Linked DNA regions of Homo sapiens: all the other regions are linked to region 2. Evidence: promoter capture Hi-C in 16 types of primary human blood cells and fetal thymus (Javierre and others, 2016). All regions are on one chromosome and are shown on one strand. The core of a region is centred on a gene start or on the middle of the fragment in contact, and the rest is flanking DNA. Distances in the headings are between cores, read along the strand shown.

Region 1 (2,700 bases), core at 184-2,683, 380 kb after region 2:
GCCCTCTTCTCTTGGACCTTAGTAGACTGTATTAGAGAAATGTCTAACTTAACTAGAATATGTGATAAGGAACATGTAGTATACCCTCTGTCTACCCTAATTTGTTGCAGATTCCAATTAGATATTCCAATTCCAATCTTTGTTTATGGTAAATTTTGAACTTTTTAGGTGTCTTGGTTTGCAGTGGGATGTTACTATCTCATGGTCGGTCATAAAAATGAACATGCCAGAAGATATCTCAGGTATGAATTTATTTTTTTCCTCTCTAGTTAACCTGTAGAATTGATGTCTTGCTCATAAGCTTTCAAGTAGTAATTAGTGAGTACTTTAAAAGCAATGTGAAAGAATAAATGTTTTTTTTTTTCTTCCTTTCTTTTCTTTCTCTCTTTCTTTCTTGCCTTTTCTTTTCCTTCTCACCTCCCCTCCCCTCTCTCTCGAGGGTTCTCACTCTGTTGCCCAGACTAGAGTGCAGTGGTGCAATAATAGCTCACCTCAAACTCAAATGATCCTCTTGCTCAGCCTCCCGAGTAGCTGGGACTACAGGCACCACCATGCCTAGCTGATTTAAACATTTTTTTTTTTTTTTAGTAGAGACGAATCTCACTGTGTTGCCTAGGCTGGTCTTGAACTCCTGGCCTCAAGCAGTCCTCTTGCTTCGGCCTCCGAAAGTGTTGAGATGACAGGCATGAGCCACCATGCCTGGCTGAATAAATGTTTTCTTCAAGTGGTTTGTTCTTTATAAGATGCCATGGGGAGAGAGAGAAAAAAAAAATCAGTGATGTAGACCCTATTCTCAGGGAACCTACATATTTTATTTATTAATGAGAATAAATGGCCAGGCATGGTGGCTCACACCTGTTATGCCAGCACTTTGGGAGGTCAATGCAGGTGGATCACCTGAGGTCAGGAGTTCAAGACCAGCCTGACTAACATGGTGAAACTCTGTCTACTAAAAATACAAAAAATTAGCCAGATATAGTAGTGGGCATCTGCATCCCAGCTACTCGGGAGGCTGAGACAGGAGAATCGCTTGAACCTGGAAAGTGGAGGTTGCAGTGAGCTGATATCGCACCATTGCACTCCAGTCTGGGTGACAAGAGCAAAACTCTGTCTCAAAAAAATAATAATAATAATTAATAAATGAGAATAAATATGAAACAATAGAGAATAATGTAGTTTGAAAGTTTCTCTCTTTCGCTTACAGAGATCCTGTTAACCTTTTACTTTTAGGATTTCTTTTATTAATAGTTGTGAAATTACACAAAACTTTATGTAAAATTGGGGTCACTAAATGTGACTATAAAACAGAATTCTTAGCAGGGTGAACTGATTCATGTAATGATTTGCTGTGGTTTTAACTTAAGGAAAGCCATGCAGCCTAGTGAAGCTATTTAACCAGTATTATTCAAGTTTAGAAAAATGTCAAGTATGTGAAGAATTAATTACTTAAACTCTGTAAATGTTCTAATTTCTGTGGTTTCTTCCGTGCAAATAAAACAGAATTGGTCTCTAACGGAAACAGCATAAACTTTGGAGTCAAATTTGAATTCTAATCCAAGTTCTGTGACTTACCAACTGAAATTCCTTGGGAAAGTTAATTTCTCCTGCTCTCTCTTTCTTTAAAAATGGGGATGTCAGCCAGGCGTGGTGGCTCACGCCTGTAATCCCAACACTTTGGGAGGCCGAGACAGGCAGATTACCTTAGGTCAGGAGTTCGAGACCAGCCTGGCCAACATGGTGAAAGTCTGTCTCTACTAAAAATAAAAAAATCAGCTGGACATGGTGGCATGCACCTGTAATCCCCGCTACTTGGGAGGCTGAGGGAGGAGAATTGTTTGAGTCCAGGAGGTGGAGGTTGTAGTGAGCTGAGATTGCACTACTGCACTCCAGCCTCGCCGACAGAGTGAGACTCTGTCTCAAAAAAAATAAAAGGGAGTGGGGGTGGGGGAGATGTCATACTCATATAGCAGGATTGTTAGGAAGACTGATGCCACGAAAGTACCCTGTACTAGGAAGAAACTAGAATGTTCCCTGGTTGGTTGTATGTTCAGCATTTTAGAAGAACTTCTACATAGAAAGATGATTAGTATTGTAAAAGTTATTTTGAGCTATGCTGCTTTGATCTAGCGTGCAATTCAGTGATGGACTCTTATCAGTGGTCCCCAACATTTTTGGCACCAGGGACCATTTTGTAGAAGCCCCCCCTCCCAGGGTGGGGGGACTGGTTTCTTGATGATTCAAGCGCATTACATTTATCGTGTGCTTTTTTCTATTATTATTACATTGTAGCATATAATGAAATAATTATACAACTCACTATAATGAAGAATCAGTGGGAGCCCTGAGCTTGTTTTCCTGCAACTAGATGGTCCCATCTGGGAGAGATGGGAGACAGCGACAGGTCATCAGGCATTAGATTCTCGTAAGGAGTGCGCCACCTAGATCCCTCACATGTGCAGTTAACAATAGGGTTTGCGCACTTACGAGAACCTAATGCCTCTGATCTGACAGGAGGCAGAGCTCAGGCGGAAATGCAAGTGAAGGGGAGTGGCTGTAAATACAGATTAAGCTTTTTTTTTTTTCAAATGGCAAGTTCTTTCTTGACATATGAAGCTTTACTCACCTGCCTGCCACTCACCTCCTGCTGTGCCGCCTGGTTCCTAATAGGCCAGGGACTGATACCAGTCTGTGGCCCAGGGG
Region 2 (2,700 bases), core at 73-2,572:
ATTCCACCCCAGGAGAATTCTTTAAAAGGAACATTCCAGCAGAACGGAAAACTTCGCTATGAAATCACCCTGACTTCAGGGCGGGAGGGACGTCAACGGGAATCCACACCTTCTCGGACTTTCCAAAGTCACCCGCTCCCGAGCCCGCAGGATAGAGTGGCCAGGCCGTCCTCACACGGCGGCTCCTGCGGGAGGCGGCCCCGGGCGCCCCGCCTTCTCCAAGGACATTCCTAACCGAGGTGCCGGGGCCAGCACCGTCGGGCTCCTGAAAGCACCCGCTGCCTCCAGGAGAGCACCTGGCAGAACGGGGCCGCGGAGCCGCCCTCCCCTCCCGCATGCGGCCCCGCTCGATTCCTGGAATCTTATTTTTGGACCTGCTGCCGCAAGCAGTTCCCGCCCTCGGCCCTTTCAATTCCTCTTTCGGGAGGGGACTGCTCTCCACCCCTCTCAGGAGGACGAGGCGCGGCCCGGGGGTTCCTCACCTCCAGCCCAGCAGAGGGAGGGCCGCGGGGAAGCGGTTTGGGTTTTAACCATTGTGTTTCTCTCGCACTTTGGAAACGGACTCCCGGCTTCCCCGCGGGGAGGCGTCTGACAGCGAGCGTTTCCCGGACAGCCCCGCAGCGTCTCACCGGCCTGCGCGGGGATCCCGGGGTCGCCGGGGGATGGGCGTGGGGGACGCGGGGCGGGCCGGGGCTCCTGGGACCCTGAGGCCAGGCCTCGCCGCGCGGAGCTGGGGGGCGGCAGCAGCGCTGCCTCTCGGGAGCGGTTGGAGGCGCGCGGGCGCCAGGGGTTCCCCCGCATCCCGCCCGCCGGCTGCTCACCGTCTCGGGGTCGTTCTCGAACACCTCCCGCGCCTCCTCGCGGCTGCACAGCTCCTCCACGCACTCCCTCTCCAGGTGGCCCTGCTTGGCCTCCTCGAAGACCTGAAAGGCGCGGCGCTGCCTGGGCCGCAGGAACTGCGTGGCCTCGCGCGCCGGCAACAGCGCGGCTGCCCGGAGGGAGAGAGGGGGACGCGTCAAGCCGCGCCCGGAGCCTCCTCCCGCCGCCCGGGGACGGGGTCTCGGGCCCGCGGGACTCACCAAGCGCGCACTCCGCGGCCAGCAGCAGCAGCAGCAGCTGCGGCGCGCGGCGCAGGGCGGCGGGCCCGGGCGAGAGCGAAGGGGCCATGGCGGGCCGGGGACGCGCGGTCAGAGCGCCCGGGAGGCCGAGGCGAGCCGCGGGCGCCGCGGGGCGGAGGCTCCGGTCATCCCGTCCTGGCGGCCCTGAAGGTCACATCGCGGCGGCGGCGGCGGCGGCGGCTGCGGCACCTCAAGCGCTCGGTCTGGGCGTGTTCGGGCGGCTGCGCGCGGGGAGGCGGCGGGGGCGGGACCAGCGCGCGGGCGGGGCGCGGGTTCCCGGGAGGATCCGGGCGCGGGGAAAGCGGAGCGTCCGGGACGCGGCGGGACTCGAGTGTTTCGGAAAAGGAGCGTCTCCCCAGGCGGTGGTTGTCTTCACTAGCGATGGGGTAAAAGGAGGACGCAATACCTGGTTCAACTTGAGCAGGTACATTTTGACCATATTCCAGGTGTCATGTGAAGATTTAAGCCTCTTTCCAACCCCCACTCCCCCCGAATCTACTGCATCCTTTTTGGAGTCTTCATTCTTAGGCACATTTTGTCAAGACTTAAAACCTACCAAAGAAAAGATACACTGAGGTCAGATCCAATCCCACTGGGGGCCAGCGAGTGAAATGCGACGGTTTCCTTTTATAATCTCTGTTTTTCATAATGATGACATTAAAAATCTTGAGGTTTCCCAGTAGATATTTAAGCTGAAAGCAACATTGTGCTTGTCTTCAGAGACCAAGACTTTCTGGCTCTTGTCTTGGAATATTTCGCAAAGTCATAGGCAAAACACACACAAACAAACAGAACCAAAACACAGCAGACCACTCACGGGGGACCGAACCAGGCAGTTAGCCCAGCATCCCCCTGCTGCGGGAGGAGGGAGCTTGGATACTCCTCTCTGGAGAATCCTGCTCTGGAAATCCCCACACCCCAAAATGCAATGTAGAGGGGCAGTGAGTCAGCACCTCACCCCAAATGAATGGCCGTTCTGCTCAGCAGGCTCAACGCTTAGATCCCCAGATCCAGTTTCTCTTTGCTTTCTGTAATTGGAAGAATGGAATAGGATTGCTGCTAGAAATCTTTGAGGTCACTGGTTTGAAAGTGGGATTATGAGCATGAATTTTTGTTGTTGTTGTTTGTTTGTTTTCAGACGGAGTCTCGCTATGTTGCCCAGGCTGGGGTGCAGTGGCGTGATCTCTGCTCACTGCAAGCTCCGCCTCCCGGGTTCACGCCATTCTCCTGCCTCAGCCTCCCGAGTAGCTGGGACCACAGGCGCCCGCCACCACGCCCGGCTGATTTTTTTTATTTTTAGTAGAGACGGGGTTTCACCGTGTTAGCCAGGATGATCTCAATCTCCTGACCTCGTGATCCGCCCGCCTGGGCCTCCCAAAGTGCTGGGATTACAGGTGTGAGCCACCGCGCCTGGCCGAGCATGTTAATTTAAGCAAATGAATGTCCCTGGGAATGATCTTCAAGGAGAATTAAAGTGGGATAGAGAAGTCATCTATCTGCACCTGTGTCTGAACCAGAATGACGAGGCACTTCCATGTCAGCTAGTTACTGGAGCAGGCGGAGTAAGGAGTACCCCTGGGCT
Region 3 (2,700 bases), core at 126-2,625, 360 kb after region 2:
GGAAACAAACTATGCAGAGTCATGTTAGGAGGTGAGGGTTTGAATTAGATTGTTTTCTCTAGCTATGAAGACTTATTCTGTTACTGTATTTTGAGCTGTGGTGGATTTGTCTATAATTCCTAGGTGGATTTTTAACTTACCTTAAAAGCTCTGTGATTGTTCCTTTAACAAATATCTAAATAAATCAGATTAAAATTTTTGAACGTGATGAAACTACAGCTTGACTCCAGAATACATAACCTAAGATATAAAAAAGACCCAGAGGGCCAGGCACGATGGCTCACGCCTGTAATCCCAGCACTTTGAGGGGCCGAGGTGGGCGGATCACAAGGTGAGGAGTTCGAGACCAGCCTGACCAACATGGTGAAACCCCATCTCTACTAAAAATACAAAGAAGTTAGCCAGGCATGGTGGCGGGCACCTGTAATCCCAGCTACTCAGAAGGCTGAGGCAGGAGAATCGCTTGAACCTGGGAGATGGAGGTTGCAGTGAGCCGAGAACGCGCCACTGCACTCCAACCGGGGCGACAGAGCAAGACTCCATCTCAAAAAAAAAAAAAAAAAGAAAGAAAAAAGAAAAGAAAAGAAAAGAAAAAAGGACCCAGAGAGTCTCGGTTGGAGACATCAAGGGTATGTCTGAGAGCCCTTGGGATCTGCTTAGTTCTCTATCAGCCCCAGGTAAGATCCCGCCTAAGCTGTTCCACAACAATGAACATCAGCCCATGGGCAATGCCTTTTAAAAATGAGTTAAAAGACTCACACACACCTTCATTCATTCAACAGAACTCTGCATATGTAGTCTCAGCCTCATGGAGCTGATAGCTAGCCCCTCAGAAATGTCACGGTCCCTAACTACTCTTTGCTATTTATTTATTTATTATTTTTATTTTATTTATTTATTTTTTGAGATGGATGGGATTACAGGCACATGCACCACCACTCCCAGCTAATTTTTGTATTTTTAGTAGAGACGGGGTTTCACCATGTTGACCAGGCTGGTCTTGAATGCCTGACCTCAGGTGATCTGTCTGCCTTGGCCTCCCAAAGTACTCTTTGCTATTTTTAACCTATATTATAGATTTAAATTTTTGTTTTGTTTTGTTTGAATGAAAATAAGAAGATAATTTCAGGCTGGGCATGGTATCGCACACCTACATTCCCAGCAGTTTGGGAGGCCAAGGTGGGAGGGTCGCATGAGCCCAGGAATTCAAGACCAGCCTGGGCCACATGATGAGACCCCGTCTCTACCAAAAAAAAAAAAAAAAAAAAAAAGAAGCAGCAGCTAATTTCATTCCTTATTTCATTCCTTTATGCACAAGCCCCTTTAAAATACACTTGACATGAATAGCAGAGCTTGCCTCCGGCTCCTCCATGCAGAATTCGGCAATCCCAGGTTCCTCACCGCTCCTCAGGGTGGACCTTCCATTGACAGTGTTTAAAATCACAGACTGTGGGGTCAGACAGGCCTGGATGTGGATTCTGGGTCTCCTGCTGATCCCCCGAGTGGACCTCCCGAAGCCTCTCCTGTGCAGCAGGTGGTGCTGGAGCCTGAGATGCCGGCATCGGGCCGGGAGGAGCTGGGCCTCTGCCCACTGCAGCCATGACCTCTCCAGGCAGCCCCGCCCCCCTGTGTCGTGAAGCGCAACTGGGCACAGGACCTCCATTAACAGTCCACGTCTGTGCTAAACTTGATGGAAAAAATGGCCTCTCCATAGCGATTTGTGTCCTTGGTTTGCAAGCCTCGAATTTGCACCTCCTTTTCGAGGTGGCAGTTTAGGGTTGACTCTGGCAGCATTTTCCGAATGTGCCTGCCTGTGTGTCCCCACCTTGTTCCACCCCACAAGGGTTGTGCTGTAGGAGTCCTGGCCTCTGCCAGCCCTCCCTGATGGGCCCTAATGCAATGAACGTCAAAGGATCTATCACAAAACTAGAAAGGCTGCTGTCTGGTCCTGAGAACATTGTTCTCTTTTCAATCTCTCTTTCCAGAGAGCAAACAGTTTATAAAGACTGACAAATTGCTACACATAGTCAAGAAGTAGACAAAATCTTGCCATTACACAGAAGAGCCATAATGTCAGCTCTTTTCCCTTCTGGACTTTGCTCAGAGAGTCAGTGGACAAATGAGCATCCTGCCAGCAGCCTTAGTGTAAAAACCAGCCACCCACAAGCTCTGATGACCTGAAAAGTCAAGTACCAGGTGCATTTTCAGATCCAGAGATGTGTCTGTCCCATGTTACTCTGGGTATCAAATTAATTGAAACCTATAGAACTTTGAAATGCTTTAAAACCATCATAAATATAATGGATGGAGCAGTGAGGACAGAAGCCTGTCTATCCTGTGTGAGGTGGGCACACAGGAAATACGTGTTAAATATAGAAAGGAAGAAAATAAAGGAGGGAGAGAAGAAGGGAGAAGGGAAAAGAAGGTAGAAAAGTAGTCCTATAGTGGAAGAGGAGGGGAAGAGACAGAAGGAGGAGGAGGAGGACAGAGGAGGGAGGGGGAGGGGGAAGGGCTAGGGAGGGGAGGAGAAGTGAGGGGGGAAAGGGGAGGGGAGGAAGGGGAGGGGGGAGGGGGGAGGGGAAGGGGAGGGAGGGGGAGGGAAAGGGGGAGGGGAGGGAGGGGGAGGGAAAGGGGGAGGGGAGGGAGGGGGAGGGAAAGGGGGAGGGGAAGGAGGGGGAGGGAAAGGGGGAGGGGAGGGAG
Region 4 (2,700 bases), core at 155-2,654, 400 kb after region 2:
TAGATGAAGTCATGAAGGTACCATGATGGTCACCAGAACACTGAGTTTGTCAGAAGTTTGGACTAAGCACATTTTCTAGTCCTGTATGATCTTTTAAATATGTATATTTGAGTATTGTATAATTTACCTTTCTTCTGAGATCTGATTAATACAGAAGGCTCAGCTGGGCGCGGTGGCTCACGCCTGTAATCCCAGCACATTGGGAGGCCGAGGTGGGCAGATCATGAGGTCAAGAGATCGAGACCATCCTGACCAATATGGTGAAACCCCGTCTCTACTAAAAATAGAAAAATTAGCTGGGCATGGTAGCACATGCCTGTAGTCCCAGCTACTAGCCCTGCGCCCGGTCCCAGGCTGAGGTAGGAGACTTGCTTGAACCCGGGAGGCGGAGGTTGCAGTGAGCTGAGATCGCGCCACTGCATTCCAGCCTGGTGACAGAGCGAGACTCTGTCTCAAAAAAAAAGGAAAAAAATACAGAAGGCTCAGAGAACTCTGTATGGAGATAGAACTTCTTTTTTTTCTTTTGAGATAGTATTTTGCTTTGTCGCCTAGGCTAGAGTGCAGTGGTACGATCTCGGCTCACTGCAACCTCCACCTCCCAGCAGTTTTCCTGCCTCAGCCTCCAGAGTATCTAGGATTACAGGCACCTGCTACCATGCCTGGCTAATTTTTGTATTTTTTATTAGAGACGGGGTTTCACCATGTTTTGGTCAGGCTGGTCTCGAACTCCTGAGCCCAGGTGATCCACCCGTCTAGGCCTCCCAAAGTGCTGGGATTACAGGCATGAGCCACTGCGCCCAGTCGAGATAGAACTTTTTAAAAAATCTTTTTTGGGGTAGATTTCCAGCATAAGAAAATAGAATAGTGTGATGAACCTCCATGACCCATAACCAACTTCAACAATCTTTGGTTCATGGCCAGTCATGTAGCTATGTCTGGCCACTTCCCCCACCCTGGATGCCCTGGAATATTTTGAAATGAATCAGTGTGGTAAGAGAAGGAAATATGTTTTCTTTTAATAACCATGCTGAATCTTTTATGGCAGGCCCTTGGTCTTAGGCGAGATGATACATTTTCTGTTACAATGCTTGGTCATTGCATCGAAATGTACATTGGTGATTCTGAAGCTTATATTGGTAAGATAATCGTTATTCTTATTGGTATTGTACTCCATTTTTTAGGTTGTCATATGTCTCTGTTTATGTTTCTCATATTCTCGTCTGAGGTTCCAAGTTCATCTTTCTAACCATTCGTGCTGCATTAAAAACAAGAAACTCCATTTATTTTATTAGAACAATGCTGTGGGGGAGTTAGTGACTCACCAAGGGTGCGTTCAGTTTAAAGCTGAATACTTGCTAAGTGCAAAATACCACTATAGAATATGTGTAAAGCACTTTGTTATAGAAGGACTCATCTGTTTCTATAATGGGAAAAGAAATCTTAGCAACATTTTTCTGATAAACAATTGAAGAGGCTCTGTCATTATTTTATAATGCAGGGTATAACAATATAAATCTTTACATTTCAATAGAATGTTGAGATGCCATACATTTCCATAACAGTGAATAAGTAATAGTATAAGTTTGGATGGAATTGCTGTACTTGGGCACTCGTTTAGTTATAAACATTATGTGATAAGGAGGATGTGGTGAGGTTATTGAGATCTAGGATAGGAAAGTTGCAAGCTTGCTAACTCCCGTTCCTACTAAAGTAATTTTTTTTTTTTTTGAGATGGAGCTTCGCTCTTGTTGCCCAGGCTGGAGTGCAATGGCGCAACCTCTGCCCACCGCAACCCCTGCCTCCCTGGTTCAAGCTATTCTCCTACCTCAGCCTCCTGAGTAGCTTGGATTACAGGCATGTGCTACCACGCCTAGCTAATTATGTATTTTTAGTAGAGACTGGTCTTCTCCATGTTCAGGCCAGACTGGTCTTGAACTCCTGACCTCAGGTGATCTGCCTGCCTCGGCCTCTCAAAGTGCTGGGATAACAGGCATGAGCCACTGCGCCCAGCCCCTACTAAAGTAATTTCTGATGTAATTTCCCCCAAAGTCAAAAAGATCAGGTAATGTGATACAAAACAGAGCAGAGCCTTAGATTTTGAGAGGGATCTGTCTGCTTATGTGTCTTGGGGTTCCCTGAGGAAAACAGAGGTTTCTCCTAAAACGGGGTCTGTGGCACCCTCTGGTTTTCCCAAGGAGCCCGAGGCTGTCAGAAATTACCTTGGGTCCTCTCATGTGGACATCCAGAGTGGCGAGAAGACAGACTGGGGAACTAATCTAGCCAACTGAGAAGAAAAACAAAAAATGAGTAATACCCATTGTAAAGTTGGATAAACTGAGGCACATCACAGTTTAAAAATGCATGTTCCCATAGGCTCCACAGCTCACTCTCTTAACCATCCTGTAATTGTGCCTGCTCTATGCCCAGTCACTGATGCACTTGTGTGGTAGCTCATGGCACACCTAGCAAACAGTTTCCCTGCCCCCTTAGAACCTGGGTTTCGTTTCCTGCTCTACGGCAGTATAAACAGTTTTTCTCTGCATGTGTTGGGTTCTAACCCTATATATCTCAAATTTTATTAATATTACTGAATCTTTTTTTTTTTTTGAGACGGAGTCTCGCTCTGTCGCCCAGGGTGGAGTGCAGTGGCAGGATCTCTGCTCACTGCAAGCTCCCCCTCACCGGGGTTCATGCCATTCT
Region 5 (2,700 bases), core at 113-2,612, 460 kb after region 2:
AAATACCCTGCAATTCAGCAGAACCAAAATCCATACCTGCCCTTTCAATGGAAACACAGAAACTTGGTTCAGTTTTGTCTCCAGAATCGCCAAAACCTACTCCTCTTACTCCCCTGGAGCCTCAGAAACCTGGCTCTGTTGTTTCTCCTGAGCTACAGACACCTCTTCCTTCTCCTGAGCCTTCAAAACCTGCCTCTGTTTCTTCTCCTGAACCTCCAAAATCAGTCCCTGTTTGTGAGTCTCAGAAACTTGCCCCTGTTCCTTCTCCAGAACCACAGAAACCTGCCCCTGTATCTCCTGAGTCAGTAAAGGCTACTCTTAGTAATCCCAAACCCCAGAAGCAGTCTCATTTCCCGGAAACATTGGGGCCACCTTCAGCCTCATCTCCAGAGTCACCAGTTCTAGCTGCTTCCCCAGAACCTTGGGGACCATCCCCAGCTGCATCTCCAGAATCTCGGAAGTCAGCCCGGACTACCTCCCCTGAGCCAAGGAAGCCATCCCCTTCAGAGTCTCCTGAACCTTGGAAGCCGTTCCCTGCTGTCTCCCCAGAGCCTAGGAGACCAGCCCCCGCTGTGTCACCAGGCTCTTGGAAACCAGGGCCACCTGGGTCCCCTAGGCCTTGGAAATCCAATCCTTCAGCATCATCAGGACCTTGGAAGCCAGCTAAACCTGCTCCATCTGTGTCTCCTGGACCTTGGAAACCAATTCCTTCTGTATCTCCTGGACCTTGGAAACCAACTCCATCTGTGTCTTCTGCATCCTGGAAATCTTCATCAGTCTCACCCAGCTCCTGGAAGTCTCCCCCTGCATCTCCTGAGTCATGGAAGTCTGGCCCACCAGAACTCCGAAAGACAGCTCCCACGTTGTCTCCTGAACATTGGAAGGCAGTTCCCCCAGTGTCTCCAGAGCTTCGCAAACCCGGCCCACCACTATCCCCAGAGATCCGTAGTCCAGCAGGATCTCCAGAGCTCAGAAAACCCTCAGGGTCACCAGATCTTTGGAAGCTTTCTCCTGATCAGCGGAAAACTTCTCCTGCTTCACTTGATTTCCCTGAGTCCCAGAAAAGTTCCCGTGGTGGTTCTCCTGATCTCTGGAAGTCTTCCTTTTTTATTGAGCCTCAGAAACCTGTCTTCCCTGAGACCCGAAAACCAGGTCCTTCTGGGCCATCTGAGTCCCCCAAAGCAGCCTCAGATATCTGGAAGCCTGTTCTCTCTATCGATACTGAGCCTAGAAAACCTGCCCTGTTTCCCGAGCCTGCCAAAACAGCCCCTCCTGCTTCTCCAGAAGCACGCAAACGTGCCCTTTTTCCAGAGCCCCGGAAGCATGCCCTTTTCCCTGAACTCCCCAAATCTGCTCTATTCTCAGAATCACAGAAGGCTGTTGAGCTTGGTGATGAACTACAAATAGATGCCATAGATGATCAAAAATGTGATATTTTGGTTCAGGAAGAACTTCTAGCTTCACCTAAGAAACTCTTAGAAGATACTTTATTTCCTTCCTCAAAGAAGCTCAAGAAAGACAACCAAGAGAGCTCAGACGCTGAGCTTAGTAGTAGTGAGTACATAAAAACAGATTTGGATGCGATGGATATTAAGGGCCAGGAATCAAGCAGTGATCAAGAGCAGGTTGATGTGGAATCCATTGATTTTAGCAAAGAGAACAAAATGGACATGACTAGTCCAGAGCAGTCTAGAAATGTGCTACAGTTTACTGAAGAAAAAGAAGCTTTTATCTCTGAAGAGGAGATTGCAAAATACATGAAGCGTGGAAAAGGAAAGTATTATTGCAAAATTTGTTGCTGTCGTGCTATGAAAAAAGGTGCTGTTTTGCATCATTTGGTTAATAAGCATAATGTTCATAGCCCTTACAAATGCACAATCTGTGGAAAGGCTTTTCTTTTGGAATCTCTCCTTAAAAATCATGTAGCAGCCCATGGGCAAAGTTTACTTAAATGTCCACGTTGTAATTTTGAATCAAATTTCCCAAGAGGTTTTAAGAAACATTTAACTCATTGTCAAAGCCGGCATAATGAAGAGGCAAATAAAAAGCTAATGGAAGCTCTTGAACCGCCACTGGAGGAGCAGCAAATTTGATAACACAGTGTGAATATTTGTTCTACAAAGGTGTTTGTTGGAACCATTCTTTGTAAGTATAGCTTATCAGATAGCATAGTTGGATCAGTAGATGACATGTATGGTGTACCGTGTTTCACTGTCTCAGTTGTGTTACTAAGAATGAGCATTTGATCATTTTTTTCTGGTCTCTGTCTATGTGACTATCTTGTAAGTCAATAAATTTCTGTATAGTCCAGATGGATTAAACTTCTCATTTCTTTTAAATATGTATGAATAATAATACAAGGAAGTAGGCATTCCATTTAATAATCAAGAGCAAGTTGTACTCAAAGCATTCAGTTAAAGTGTATCTGTGTGTGGAACTAATTTCAGACAATAGAAAATATTAGTTGAAATGTTTAAGAATTAGGCATGAAAAATAAATTTGAGAAATTTTGTTTCCTTACATGTATTTTTAAATCATAAGAGTTATTTTCTATCTGATGTAAAATTAGTTTATAAATCTTAATCAGCTTCTAGATGTTTATTAGCTTTTATGTCATGAAATGTTGGAGTCTCAGGGTTGCTGATTTTCTGCTAATGGGAAAAATTGACTAAGTCTTTAAAATAGTTTGCAGCCTTCTCC

What was found. Contacts are between HindIII fragments. The CHiCAGO score rates a contact against its expected background, and 5 or more counts as called.
Region 1: a contact is called between a fragment that was not itself captured here and the fragment with the promoter of GAS6 in region 2, in 1 of 17 cell types (naive CD4 T cells). The highest score is 5.0, in naive CD4 T cells.
Region 3: a fragment that was not itself captured here is called in contact with the fragment with the promoter of GAS6 in region 2 in 2 of 17 cell types (activated CD4 T cells and endothelial precursors); the score reaches 5.2 in activated CD4 T cells.
Region 4: a fragment that was not itself captured here is called in contact with the fragment with the promoter of GAS6 in region 2 in 2 of 17 cell types (naive CD4 T cells and naive CD8 T cells); the score reaches 5.9 in naive CD4 T cells.
Region 5: a contact is called between a fragment that was not itself captured here and the fragment with the promoter of GAS6 in region 2, in 2 of 17 cell types (total CD8 T cells and naive CD4 T cells). The highest score is 6.2, in total CD8 T cells.

Annotation. Positions count from the first base shown.
Region 1 is chr13:114,246,763-114,249,462 of GRCh38, forward strand. CDC16 (cell division cycle 16) reads left to right here. Exons shown (of 18, transcript NM_001078645.3): 11 at 169-242. Among named protein-coding and RNA genes, the nearest start is that of MIR548AR, 3.6 kb to the left of the region's middle. The HindIII fragment of the contact is 2,268 bases long and covers 300-2,567 here.
Region 2 is chr13:113,862,754-113,865,453 of GRCh38, forward strand. It overlaps GAS6 (growth arrest specific 6), which reads right to left and starts at 1,323. Exons shown (of 15, transcript NM_000820.4): 1 at 1,080-1,323; 2 at 822-988. The coding sequence starts at 1,167. GAS6-DT (GAS6 divergent transcript) reads left to right here and starts at 1,424. Exons shown (of 2, transcript NR_044993.1): 1 at 1,424-1,542; 2 at 2,257-2,700. RefSeq lists silencers at 347-396, 877-936, 957-1,016 and an enhancer at 737-1,328. The HindIII fragment of the contact is 18,327 bases long and covers 1-2,700 here.
Region 3 is chr13:114,222,870-114,225,569 of GRCh38, forward strand. CFAP97D2 (CFAP97 domain containing 2) reads left to right here. Exons shown (of 4, transcript NM_001395229.1): 4 at 1-216. Among named protein-coding and RNA genes, the nearest start is that of CDC16, 11 kb to the right of the region's middle. The HindIII fragment of the contact is 7,731 bases long and covers 1-2,700 here.
Region 4 is chr13:114,264,105-114,266,804 of GRCh38, forward strand. CDC16 (cell division cycle 16) reads left to right here. Exons shown (of 18, transcript NM_001078645.3): 17 at 1,046-1,136. All of the region lies in intron 2 of LOC105370384 (a long non-coding RNA gene), which reads right to left. Among named protein-coding and RNA genes, the nearest start is that of MIR4502, 8.4 kb to the right of the region's middle. The HindIII fragment of the contact is 558 bases long and covers 1,126-1,683 here.
Region 5 is chr13:114,324,189-114,326,888 of GRCh38, forward strand. It overlaps CHAMP1 (chromosome alignment maintaining phosphoprotein 1), which reads left to right. Exons shown (of 3, transcript NM_032436.4): 3 at 1-2,700. The coding sequence ends at 2,093. Among named protein-coding and RNA genes, the nearest start is that of LINC01054, 8.4 kb to the right of the region's middle. The HindIII fragment of the contact is 721 bases long and covers 1,003-1,723 here.